Regions from separate parts of the Homo sapiens genome. Here region 2 is linked to region 1. Evidence: promoter capture Hi-C in human tissues and cell types (Jung and others, 2019). All regions are on one chromosome and are shown on one strand. Each heading gives the region's core, a stretch centred on a gene start or on the middle of the fragment in contact. The rest is flanking DNA. Distances are from core to core; before and after follow the strand shown.

The links. The method cuts DNA at HindIII sites, captures the fragments that hold promoters and counts their contacts. A contact is called where the count stands out against the background at its distance.
Region 2: a fragment that was not itself captured here is called in contact with the fragment with the promoter of CLDN5 in region 1 in 2 of the 25 tissues and cell types used here (dorsolateral prefrontal cortex and spleen).

The regions. Positions count from the first base shown.
Region 1 is chr22:19,520,818-19,527,185 of GRCh38, reverse strand. CLDN5 (claudin 5) reads left to right here and starts at 2,776. Exons shown (of 1, transcript NM_001363066.2): 1 at 2,776-4,159. The coding sequence starts at 2,931. The coding sequence ends at 3,587. RefSeq lists an enhancer at 4,161-5,093. The HindIII fragment of the contact is 10,668 bases long and covers 1-3,006 here.
Region 2 is chr22:19,261,351-19,267,980 of GRCh38, reverse strand. All of the region lies in intron 2 of CLTCL1 (clathrin heavy chain like 1), which reads left to right. Among named protein-coding and RNA genes, the nearest start is that of CLTCL1, 27 kb to the left of the region's middle. The HindIII fragment of the contact is 6,328 bases long and covers 2,005-6,630 here.

The DNA of each region.
Region 1 (6,368 bases), core at 1,527-4,026:
TGTGCTCTGCCTAGAGACAGTGCTTGCCACGAAGTAGGTGAGCAGACCCTCCATGAGTGGCAGGAAAGGTGGGTGCACCCTCATGCCCCTCCGGAGTCTGGCCTGGGCTACTCAGAGGCCAGCCTCCATCTGAGGTGGGTTTGTCTGGGGTGGCGTCAGCCCCTGCGGCCCTCTCTGGGCCTCTCTGCATTGGCATTGTTCCACTGCAGCCTGGGGCCTCGACCAACATAGTGGGGTCAGGGTAGAAACCAGATTGTGAAAGGTGAAGCCTGAGACTCCTCTGCCACGTCCCTGAGATGCTGTGAGGCTGCCGCCAAAGAAACATGAGCTTGCTGGGGCCACCCTAGGGTGACAGCTAGGAGAGAAGAAAAACAGGCAGCCAGGTGAGAAGGGAGAGCCTTGGGCTGGCTGCAGCTCCAAGCTGGCTAGAGGGCAACAGGCAGCCTCCTGTGCAGGACAGACGCATGAAGACAGCCACCCTGTGGAGGTTATTCCTGGATACTAGGTGGGAAAGTCGGCAAGCAAAAGGACAGGTCCAGCTCAAGCTTCTAAAAGCAATGCTGGGGGACGGTGCAGCAAGGTGTTCCTGGAAATGACCTCGGCAACACATCTTAGAAGATGAGCAGGACCCAACCTGACAGATACACGCTGCGGGCAGAAGAGGCCAAGGTAAGAGACGGCCCATGTGAGGCCCATAGGCAGGTAAGTCTCCTGGGGCAGAGTGTGTGCTCAGGGCCGCACCAAGACTGGTGGCTGGACTGGCCAGTCCTAGCGCATGCAGGTACACATCAATCCAGCTGCTCTGGGAGTCGGCTCTTCGTCCATGGGCAATGTGAGCCATGGAGGGTCTTAGGTAGGGTGAGGCCCAGGAGAGGGGCCTGGTGGGGTGGGTGGCCTAGCTGGGCAAGGGCAGGTCCCTGATGACCTGAGGAGGCCGCAGCAGTCATCCCAGGAAGATGGTGGCATGGAAGGGCTGGGAGTAGGGGGATCTGGGGAAGTTCCCTGGGCTTGGGTTAGGGGGTAGTAAGAGTGAGAGGGTGGGTGGGTCAGCTGTACCCCTGGAGTACACAGAGGAGGAGATGTCCAGGAGGGTCTGTAGAGGAAGGGGCATGGCCCATGGGTCTGCAGCAGGAGGAAGGCAGTGACTAAAGTGATAGCTGGGAGAAGGCAGTGGTCCTCAGAGCCATACCTGGTGGGGAGAGGCCACGTGGGGCTGAGCAAAGAGGGTATGATTTCCTTCCAGCCTCAGGGCTGGGCACACTTGCCTTCAGAACCTCCCCACACTAGGTGAGCCAGACGCTGGCCTTATCTCATTTACCATCTCAGAGCCATCTGAAGGGGGAGAAGGGAACCGGGCCCCAGGAGGGAGAAAGTCATCAAACCTCCCACATCTGTGACCAGCCTCAGTGCCATACTTTTTCTATGGAGGGCCCTGTCCAATGGAACTGAGCACAGACCAGATAAAAGAACTGGGCACCCAGTGGCCTCAGTCCAGGGCCTGGAGTTCAAACTTTACTGGAAACAAAGGGGCCGAGAGAGACTGGGGAAAGAACTACTAGAAAGGGGCTGGTGCCCCCATGGGGCTGTGGGTTTTGGAGCCGCGTGCCCCCACCTGAGCCTCAGGGGGCCCGGAGTGTCCACACCAGTGGACCTTTCGAGAAATGGCTGGGCCATTGTGCAGAAGAATGCCCGGAAATCCCGCGCCTCCCTCCTCCAGCAAGGATGGGGGCTCTTCCTCCTGGCCAGGAAACTCCAAGTTGGCTTCCGGAGGGTGGCCTGGGGGCTGGGGTGCCAGGGACACCATCGCCACTGGTGGGAGGGCAGGGCACAGCCCCTCCGTGTCCCTTTGTCTCTCCTGTCTGAAGGCCAGAGCAGGCTGCTAGGCCTGGGGCCACCACTGCCCCTGGGTGCTACACCCAGTGTGCTGGGTCACTGGGAACTTCCTGAAGTGGTGTCACCTGAACTGGGCCCCCAAGGATGGGGTGCGGGCAGTACCGCAGGAAGAGGAGCAGCCCCTGTGAAGATTGAGAGGTCTGGGAAGCCCCTGCGGCTTGGGAGAGTGGGGGTCGCCAGGCAGGGGGAAAGCCCCTGTGCCACCGCTTTTTGCCAGAGACTCAGGCTCCAGAGAGGCAGTGAGTGGCATGGGGGGTGAGGCTGGGGCCCTGGGCCTGACCTCCACACGCCTGCCTGGCCTCTCTGTTTGCCATGGGATGAGAGAGACAGTGCTGGGACTCAGAGCGGGGCTGGAGAGTGAGAGTGCGAGAAAGGGCCTGGGTGGGGCTTGGACCCCGGGGCGGGCTTTCTGGAGAGCCCCCCTACGAGGGCCTCTACGGCGGTGACGGGGTGGGGGGCTTCTGCAAACCTTGGTCAGGGAAGTGGAGCTGGCTCGAGTGGAAGAGACCACCCGGCTCAGTCGGGGATGTGGGAGTGGACTGGGTGGTGCAGACTGGGGGTCGAGCGCCTTCTGAAGTGACGGGGCCGGGACGCGCAGGGAGGCGGCCCAAGAAGCGCGCCCTAGGCCAGCCCAGAATGCGCTCGGCCGCGACTAGGACAACGGCGGGTGGGGCTGGGGGCGGCTGCCGGGCGGGGAGCGGTCCCGCGCCCTCAGCTACCCCTCAAGAGCCGTTGTTTCCCTAACTTCAGCTGCCAGAGGCTCTGTGATTGGCTGCGGCACGATGACCCGCGCACGGATTGGCTGCTTCGGGCCGGGGGGCCGGGCCCGGGGGACAGAATCCGCCCCCGAACCTTCAAAGAGGGTACCCCCCGGCAGGAGCTGGCAGACCCAGGAGGTGCGACAGACCCGCGGGGCAAACGGACTGGGGCCAAGAGCCGGGAGCGCGGGCGCAAAGGCACCAGGGCCCGCCCAGGGCGCCGCGCAGCACGGCCTTGGGGGTTCTGCGGGCCTTCGGGTGCGCGTCTCGCCTCTAGCCATGGGGTCCGCAGCGTTGGAGATCCTGGGCCTGGTGCTGTGCCTGGTGGGCTGGGGGGGTCTGATCCTGGCGTGCGGGCTGCCCATGTGGCAGGTGACCGCCTTCCTGGACCACAACATCGTGACGGCGCAGACCACCTGGAAGGGGCTGTGGATGTCGTGCGTGGTGCAGAGCACCGGGCACATGCAGTGCAAAGTGTACGACTCGGTGCTGGCTCTGAGCACCGAGGTGCAGGCGGCGCGGGCGCTCACCGTGAGCGCCGTGCTGCTGGCGTTCGTTGCGCTCTTCGTGACCCTGGCGGGCGCGCAGTGCACCACCTGCGTGGCCCCGGGCCCGGCCAAGGCGCGTGTGGCCCTCACGGGAGGCGTGCTCTACCTGTTTTGCGGGCTGCTGGCGCTCGTGCCACTCTGCTGGTTCGCCAACATTGTCGTCCGCGAGTTTTACGACCCGTCTGTGCCCGTGTCGCAGAAGTACGAGCTGGGCGCAGCGCTGTACATCGGCTGGGCGGCCACCGCGCTGCTCATGGTAGGCGGCTGCCTCTTGTGCTGCGGCGCCTGGGTCTGCACCGGCCGTCCCGACCTCAGCTTCCCCGTGAAGTACTCAGCGCCGCGGCGGCCCACGGCCACCGGCGACTACGACAAGAAGAACTACGTCTGAGGGCGCTGGGCACGGCCGGGCCCCTCCTGCCAGCCACGCCTGCGAGGCGTTGGATAAGCCTGGGGAGCCCCGCATGGACCGCGGCTTCCGCCGGGTAGCGCGGCGCGCAGGCTCCTCGGAACGTCCGGCTCTGCGCCCCGACGCGGCTCCTGGATCCGCTCCTGCCTGCGCCCGCAGCTGACCTTCTCCTGCCACTAGCCCGGCCCTGCCCTTAACAGACGGAATGAAGTTTCCTTTTCTGTGCGCGGCGCTGTTTCCATAGGCAGAGCGGGTGTCAGACTGAGGATTTCGCTTCCCCTCCAAGACGCTGGGGGTCTTGGCTGCTGCCTTACTTCCCAGAGGCTCCTGCTGACTTCGGAGGGGCGGATGCAGAGCCCAGGGCCCCCACCGGAAGATGTGTACAGCTGGTCTTTACTCCATCGGCAGGGCCCGAGCCCAGGGACCAGTGACTTGGCCTGGACCTCCCGGTCTCACTCCAGCATCTCCCCAGGCAAGGCTTGTGGGCACCGGAGCTTGAGAGAGGGCGGGAGTGGGAAGGCTAAGAATCTGCTTAGTAAATGGTTTGAACTCTCTCCCACCTGTGTCCTGTTCTCTGTCCAGCCATCTTCCGTGTCCAGCAGCCCCATTCATCACCCACCAGCCCCGCCCTCCCAAGGACTCCTGTGGAGACCTCCTCCCAGGGCTGGAGGCTGGGGCTCTTTTCCCCATCCTCCCTGCCACCTTCCCACCAGGTGGGAGACACAGCCACCACTTACTACAGCCCAGAAAGGCGGGATCTGCGGTCAGAAGAGCTGCTGCGTCATGGGGCCCTGGGGCCCGGGATGGGACAGGGGCGGGGGCAGCGGCAGACCCCAGCAGAAGATGCGGGGTGAAGCGCCCTCAACACAGGCTGGTGAGTGGGGGTCCTGCGGTGTGGGAAGTGCTGGGGGTGAGCAGCCAGGCCGCTGGCTTCTCCCAGAAAGGGCCAAGCCCCACACAGCACAGGGTGAGGTTTTCCACTGCCCTCTCAGGGCTTGCCTAGTCCCAAGCCCCATCAAGTGGCCACAGAGGTCTGTAGAATCCCCGACCAGGCCCTTTCCAATGGTGGGTGGGGCAGGAACAGGGGTGAATGCAGGACACGCCGGTCAACAGTAGGGTTGCCATGGGAGGAGGTGCTGGCAGCTGGTTGCCTGGAGTACCACAGCTTGGCTCTAGCCCCTCGTCCTGGCTCCTCTGCCAGTCCCAGCGCAGCTCCCTACAGAGCCTGTACCCACCCTGCTGGCCTGGCAGCCTGCCCAGAATGGTGCTCACAACCAGCACCTGTGCCAGCCCCTGCTGGGGGCACTCTGGGTAACCTTCCTCCTCCAGGGGCTGTGTGGCCTGGGAGTCAGTGCTGGCCCCTGCCAGGCACCTCGGAATGGGGGTGTCTAGAGCCATCTAACATAGCCACTGAGAGCTCACTGTTTTTAGCCTTGTTCTAGGCACTTTGAATTAACACATTTTTGACATTTGACATAAAGCTAGAAGCAGAAGAGAGCAGCTGATGAAGGGGGCATGCTGCAGGGAAGAGCTCTAAGCCCAGCCGGAAGGGAGACTTGGTATCTGCCCCAAACTGGACTTGGGGGCCCTGCCCAGAAATGTCTGGGCCACATCCAGTGGCAGGGAGTCTCCTAGGTCTGGCCAGGCTACCATCATGGAGCAGTGGGAGAACCCCAAGAATGCAGGCTCAGAGTGGCTTAGGGCAGCTGCTGGAATGTGTGGCAGCTTCCTGGGAGCTGCTGTGGAACCAGCCGGTGGGATGAGTTACAGGGAGAGGGGCCCCACGGTGCAGAGGTCCTCAGCAGGCCTGACCTGTACCCCACCTGGGCCTGTACAACAGGGACCAAGAATAGTCCCCAAGCTTGGGAGTGTGTGATCCCAGAGCTGTGGCCCTGGGCAGAGCCAAAAACAATGGTCCTTACACTCTTGCACCTGGCCACCGGGACTGGGTAGTACCAGGTCTGGTGTGTTTGGTCAGAAGCTGAGGCCCAAGGCTGCCTGGGAGGGCATTCCTAAGAAAGCCTTTTCCTAAGAAAGGACAGGCACGGGGCTGGGCACGGTGGCTCACGCCTGTAATCCCAGCACTTTGGAAGGCCGACGTGGGCGGATCACAGGGTCAGGACATCAAGACCATTCTGGCCAACGTGGTGACACCCGTCTGTACTAAAAATACAAAAATTAGCTGGGCGTGGTGGTGTGTGCCTGTAATCCCAGCTACTCGGGAGGCTGAGACAGGAGAACCACTTGAACTCGGGAGGCAGAGGTTGCAGTGTGCCGAGATCGCACCAACTGCACTCTAGTCTGGTGACAGAGCGAGACTCTGTCTCAAAAAAAGGAAAGAAAGGGCATGGAAAGGAAGCTGCACAGCCTTTGAATTTTCCCAAATGGCCAGGGTAGGCAGCTCAAGGGTCCCGGGAAGCTGTGCAAACCACCAGAGGTGAGGGGAGGGGCCCAGCCTCCAGTCCAGCTCTCACCCTTTTGTGCCCACTGCCCTTTGCCAAGGGCTGCACCAAGACCAGCCCCACCTACCTGTGTGCTCTTTTCCAGGCCACTCTTTCTGAGCTTTTCCCCACTGACTTAAAACCTACCCAAATCACTCCTGCCTTCAAAGACCTGGAAAAGAGTGCTGGATGGTGAGACCCACAGGTGGAGGGATGGCTGAGAGGGTGGACTTGCTATGTGGCTGAGGCCAGGTGGACCAGAGGAAGTGGTAGGTGGACAGAGCCAGGTGCTGGCTGGCACCACCAGGCAGTGGCCGGTGCA
Region 2 (6,630 bases), core at 3,919-6,418, 260 kb after region 1:
TTTTTTCTTTAATGGATCATGCTTTTGGAGTCATAGCTAAGAGTGCTTAGCCTATGGTTTTGTAGTTTTAATTTTTTTTTTTTTTGAGACAGAGTCTTGTTCTTCTCACCCAGCCTGGAGTGCAGGGGCGCAATCTTGGCTCACTGCAACCTCTGCCTCCTGGGTTCAAGCGATTCTCCTGCCTCAGCCTTCCAAGTAGCTGGGATTACAGGTGCCTGCCACCATGCCTGGCTAGTTTTTTGTATGCTTAGTAGAGATGGGGTTTCCCCATGTTGGCCAAGCTGGTCTTGAACTCCTGACCTCAGGTAATCCACCTGCCTCAGCCTCACAAAGTATTGGGATTACAGGTGTGAGCCACTGTGCCCGACCCAGATCTGTGCCCATTCTTGCACCGATTACTTGATAGTTGTAGCTTTATGGTAATTTGGAAGTCAGATAGTGTTGGTACTCCAACTTAGTGTTTTTCAAAATAGTTTTTGAAACTCTTTGAAACGAGATCCTTTGAATTGCCACATAAATTTTGGGTTTAGTTTGTGAATTCCTACAAAAATCCTTCTGGGGCTTTGATAGAGATTACATTGAATTTATCAATTTGGTAAGAATTGCTATCTTGACAATATTAAGTCTTCTAGTCATTTAATGTCTCTGTTTATTTAGATCTTTAATTTCTTTCAGTGATGTTTTGCATATTCAGTGAGCAAATCCTATACTTCTTTGTTAAATTTATTCCCAAGTATTTTATTCTTTTTTTATGTTATTATATACAGACTTATTTTCTTAGTTTTATTTTTGGATTGTTTCTTGCTAGTATATAGAAATAAAATAATTTTTGTATATTTTTCTGTATCCTATATACTTATTAAACTTATTCTTGTAGTTTTTAGTGGATTCCTTGGCATTTTCTACATACTGTATCATGTTATCTGTGAATAGACAGTTTTACATCTTCCTTTCTAATCCAGATTCTGTTTGTTTCAACATTGCATCGGCTAGAATACCCAGTACAGTATTAAACAGAAGTGACAAGAACAGAAATCGTTGAATTATTTCTGACCTTAGGGGGGAGTTTTTAGCCTTTTACAATTAAATATGATGTTGGCTGTGGATTTGGGGTAGATAAATCCTTTATCAAGTTGGAGAAGTTCCCTTCTATTTTCTGTGTCTACTGAGATGATCACATAGTTTGTGTCCTTTATTAGTGTGGTGTATTACATAAATTAATTATTGGCTATTAAGCCAACCTTGCATTCCTGTGGTAAATCTCTTTTGGTCATGGTGTATGGTGGTTTTTTTATGTTGTTGGATTTTGTTCACTAATATTCTAAGGGTTTTCTGTTATTTTTATAATTGGTCTATAGTTTTCTTTTCTTGTGATGTCCTTTTGTGACTTTGTAATTAGGCAAATGTTGGCCTTAGAGAATGAGGTCCTTCTTCCTCTATATTCTGAAAGAATCTGTGAAGGACTTATTTCTGTCTTCTTTGAGTATTTGATAGAATTCAACAGTGAAAGCCTTCTGGTCCTGGGGTTTTCTTTGTGGGAAGATTTTAAATTTCAAATTCAACTTCCTTACTTGCTGTGAATCTGTTCAGATTTTCTGTTTTCTTGTGTCAGTTTTGGTAATTTGTGTCTTTCTAGGAATGTATCCAGGTTATCTAAGTCTTCTAGTATGTTGACATAAAATTGTTCATAATATTCGCTTCTTTTAATTTCTTTGGGGTTGGCAGTGGTGCCCTCTTTCATTCTTAATTTTGATAATTTGTGTCTTCTGTTTTTTTCTTGATCATTAACTAAGGTTTGGGTCAGGCCTGGTGGCTCATACCTGTAATCCCAGCACTTTGGGAGTCTGAAGTGACAGGATCACTTGGGACCAGAAGTTCAAGACCAGCCTGGGCAACATAGGGAGACTCCATCTCTACAAATTAAAAAACAAAAACAAAAAACTAGCCAGTGTGGTAGTACGTGTCTGTGGTTCCAGCTACTCAGAAGTCTGAGGCTTGAGGATCATCCTAAGCCCATTATGTCAAGGCTACAGTGAGCTGGGATAGTGCCATTGCACTCCAGCCTAGGTAACAGAGTGAGACCCTGTCTGTAAAAATAAATAAATAAGATTTGTTAGTTTTCTTGATTGTTTTGAAAAACCCTACTTCTGGCAAGGTGTATATAGGCTGCTTCAGGAACATGCGCACAGCTGCCTACCCTGTGCCTTTCTTGTTAAAATGTAGCATACCATTTTAATTCTTCTGAATTTTTCTTTTTACTATTTTGTGTATGTATGTGTATTTTTATGGTGGTTGCTGTAGGGTTTATAAAATGCATCCTAACATCACAAATGATTTCAGATTATTAATATTAACTTCTGTTAAAATGCAGAAATTTCACTCCAGCATAGCTTCATTTCCTCCTCCCTCTGTTGTGCTATTTTTATCATTCATATATATGAATATATAAAATATATTAAAAAAGAGAAAATAAGATGCATATATGCATCTATATATGTTATAAACTCAACAACCTGTAGTTTTATTGTGGTTTTAAATGATATTATTTAATGAAATTAAGAGAAATCTTTATACTAACCAACATATTTATCATATCCAGTGCTCTTTATTTCTTTTTGTGGATTTGAGCTCCCATCTTAGTTCAGTCTGATTAGAAGTCATTTACCATAAGCTGTTAGTGCCTGAAGACAGTGAGGGTCTAACATTTACCATTTTGACTAGAGAGCAAAACTACATCACACCTAAATTATGTCCAAAAGCAGTTGTTTTATAAATTTATATAGTTTAAACTTAAGTTGATAATATAGTTATAGCTAACTTTAGAACTGTTTTATGGCAGCAGGCCTTTATCTTACTGATCATGTGTTTTGGATATAAATTGTATCAAATTTCGGCTGGGCACGGTGGCTCACACCTGTAATCCCAGCACTTTGGGAGCACAAGGTAGGTGGATCACCTGAGGTCAGGAGTTTGAGACCAGCCTGGCCAACATGGTGAAACCCTGTCTCTACTAAAAATACAAAAATTTGCTGGGCATGTTGGTGTATGCCTATAATCCCAGCTACTTGGGACGCTGAAGGAGGACAATCACTTGAATCCGGGAGGCGGAGGTTGCAATGAACCTAGATCGACCCATTGCACTCCAGCTTGGGCCCCAAAAGCGAAACTCTGTCTCAAAAAAAAAAAAATTGCATGAAATTTCACCATTGAGTTGCTCCTTTTTGTGAATTCAAGAAATCATCTTAATTATTGCCCAGGTATATCATGATATCATTAAAGACTTTCTGTTAGCAACAGCAGCCTTATTTCTCAAATTGTGGTTTAAAACCAGTTTTGCTAATTGATGATAATATTGTAATAATATCAGTTGTTGCGTAGCTTGGCTAACTAACTGGATAGTCAGATTAACTCTTTTTTTCTAGCTGTGTACCTCAGAGATAGTAGTACCTCAAAAAAAGCTAGATCTGTAAATAATTCCGCTGTTAACATGAGTGTACAGATGTCTTTTGGGGAACCTGTTTTTAATCCTTTTAATTCTATACCCACAAGTAATTGACTGGATCATATCATTATTCATTTTTAATTTTTTTGAGGAACTGCCATCTCTTTTCTATAGTGGTTGCACTATTTTATATTCTCAGTAGTGCACAGGGTTCCAATTTTTTCACATTCTTGCTAACACTTGTTATTTGTATTGTTTTCTTTTTAATGGTAGCCATTTTTTTTTTTTTTTAAGAGACTGTAACTTCGAACTCCTGGACTCAAGCTATCCTCCTACCTCAGCCTCCCAAGTAGCTAGGACTATAGGCATGCGCCACTACAACCAGCTAATTAAAAACATTTTTTCTTTGTAGAGACAGGGTCTTGCCATGTTGCCCAGGCTGTCTTAAACTCTTGGCCTCACATGATCATCCCGTCTCAGCTTCCCAAAGCGCTAGGATTACAGGCGTGAACCACTCCACGTGGGTCATTTTTTAACTGGACTATTTGTGTTTTTTGTTGTTGAGTTGTAGGCATTCTTTATATATTCTGGATATTAACCCCTTGTCAGATATATGATTTCCATATACAGGCATACCTTGAAGATATTTTGAGTTCAATTCCAAACTACCACAATAAAAAGAATATTACAATAGTGAGTTACATGAATTTTTTGGTTTCCCAGTGCATATAAAAGTTATGTTTATACTATGCTGTAATCTATTAAGTGTGAAATAGCATTATGTCTAAAAAAATGGATTATCTTAATTAAAAAATAATTTGGCTGGGTGCAGTGGCTCACGCCTATAATCCCAGCACTTTGGGAGGCCGAGGCAGGAGAATCACAAGGTCAGGAGATCAAGACCATCCTGGCTAACACAGTGAAACCCTGTCTCTACTAAAAATACAAAACCCAAAAATTAGCTGGGCGTGGTGGCGGTTGCCTGTAGTCCCAGCCTGTCAAGAGGCTGAGGCGGAGAATGGTGTGAACCCGGGAGGCAGAGGTTGCAGTGAGCCAAGACTGCGCCACTGCACTTCAGCCTGGGTGACAGAGTGAGACTCCATCTCAAAAAATAAAAATAAAAATAAAAATAAATAATTTATGGCCAGGCATGGTGGCATATACCTCTAATCCTAGTACTTTCAGAGGCCAAGGTGGGAAGATCGCTTGAGCCTAAGAATTCAAGAGCAGCATGGCAAAGAATACAGTGAGACCTTAGCTCAAAAAAAAAAAAAAAAAATTCTGGGTGTGGTGGTGCACGCCTGTAGTCTCACCTACTCAAGGAGGCTGAGATGGGAGAATATCTTGAGCCCAGGAGTCTGATGACTGCATGTCAGCCTGGGTTACAGAGAGAGACTCTGTCTCAAAATAAATAAATAAATAAATGAATAATCTATTTATTTATTCCTAAAAATTGCTTACCATTATCAGCCTTCAGTGAGTTGTAATCTTTTTTTTTTTTTTTTTTAAAGATGGAGTCTCTCTCTGTCACCCAGGCTGGAGTGCAGTGGCGTTATCTCAACTCTCTGCAACTTCTGTTTACCAGGGTTAAGGGATCCTCCTGCCTCAGCCTCCCGAGTAGCTGGGATTACAAGCACGTGCGACCACGCCCAGCTAATTTTTGTATTTTTAGTAGAGATGGGGTTTCACCATGTTGGCCAGGCTGATCTCGAACTCCTGACCTCAAGTGATCTGCCGGCCTCAGCCTCCCAAAGTGCTGGGATTACAGGCATGAGCCACTGTACCCAGCTGCGAGTTGTAAACTTTTTACTGGTGGAGGGTCTTGCCTTGATGCCAATGGCTGCTGATTGATCACAGTGGTGGTGGCTGAAGGCTGGAGTGGCTGTGGCAATTTTTTTTTTTTTTTTGAGACAGAGTCTTACCCTGTTGCCCAGGCTGGAGTGCAGTAGTGCAATCTCGGCTCACTGTAAGCTCCGCCTCCCGGGTTCATGCCATTCTCCTGCCTCAGCCTCCCAAATAGGTGGGACCACAGGCACCTGCCACCAAGCCCAGCCAATTTTTTGTATTTTTAGTAGAGATGGGGTTTCACCACATTAGCCAGGATGGTCTCCATCTCCTGACTTCGTGATCCACCTGCCTCAGCCTCCCAAAGTGCTGGGACTACAGGCATGAGCCACCGCGACAGGCTGGCAATTTCTTAAAATAAGACATCAGGCTGGGTGCGGTGGCTTATGCCTGTAATCCCAGCACTTTGGGAGGCTGAGGCAGGCAGATCATGAGGTCAAGAGATCGAGACCATCCTGGCCAACATGGTGAAACCCCGTCTCTACTAAAAATACAAAAAAATTAGCTGGGCCTGGTGGCACGCTCCTGTAGTCCCAGCTACTTGGGAGGCTGAGGCAGGAGAATCGCTTGAATCCGGGAGGTGGAGGTTGCAGTGAGCCAAGATCACGCCACTGCACTCCAGTCTGGCAACAGAGTGAGACTCCATCTCAAAAAACAAATAAATAAATAATAAATAATTTTAAAAAAAGACATCAGTGAGGTTTCCGCAGGGATTGACTCTTCCTTTAATGAAAGATTGCTCTGTAGCGTGCAATGCTGTTTGCTAACATTTTACCCACAGTAGACTTCTTCCAGAATTGGAGTCAGTCCTTTCAGACTCTGGTGCTGCTTTATCAGGTAAGTTTATGTACTGTTCTAAATTCTTGTAGTAATTTCAACAGTGTTCACAGCATCTTCACTGGGAGTAGATTCCATTGGAAGAAACCCCTTTCTTTGGTCATCCCTAAGAAGCAGCCCTCATCTGTTCAAGTTTGATCCTGAGATTGCAACAATTCAGTCCCATCTTCAGGCTCCACTTCTAATTCTCTTGCTGTTTCTACCACATCTGCAATGACTTCCTCCACTGAAGTCCTGAACCTCACAAAGTCATTCATGAGGGTTGGAATACACTTCTTCCAAATTCCTGTTAATATTGATATTTTGATCTCCTCTCGTGAATCACGAATGTTCTTAGTTGCATCTAGAATGGTGAATCCTTTCCAGGAGGTTATCAATTTACTTCGCCTAGATCCATCAAAGGAGACATATTTATGGCAGCTGTAGCCTTTAAAAATGTATTTCTTAGGCTGGGCACGGTGGCTTCCGCCTGTAATCCCAGCACTGTGGGAGGCTGAGGCGGGTGG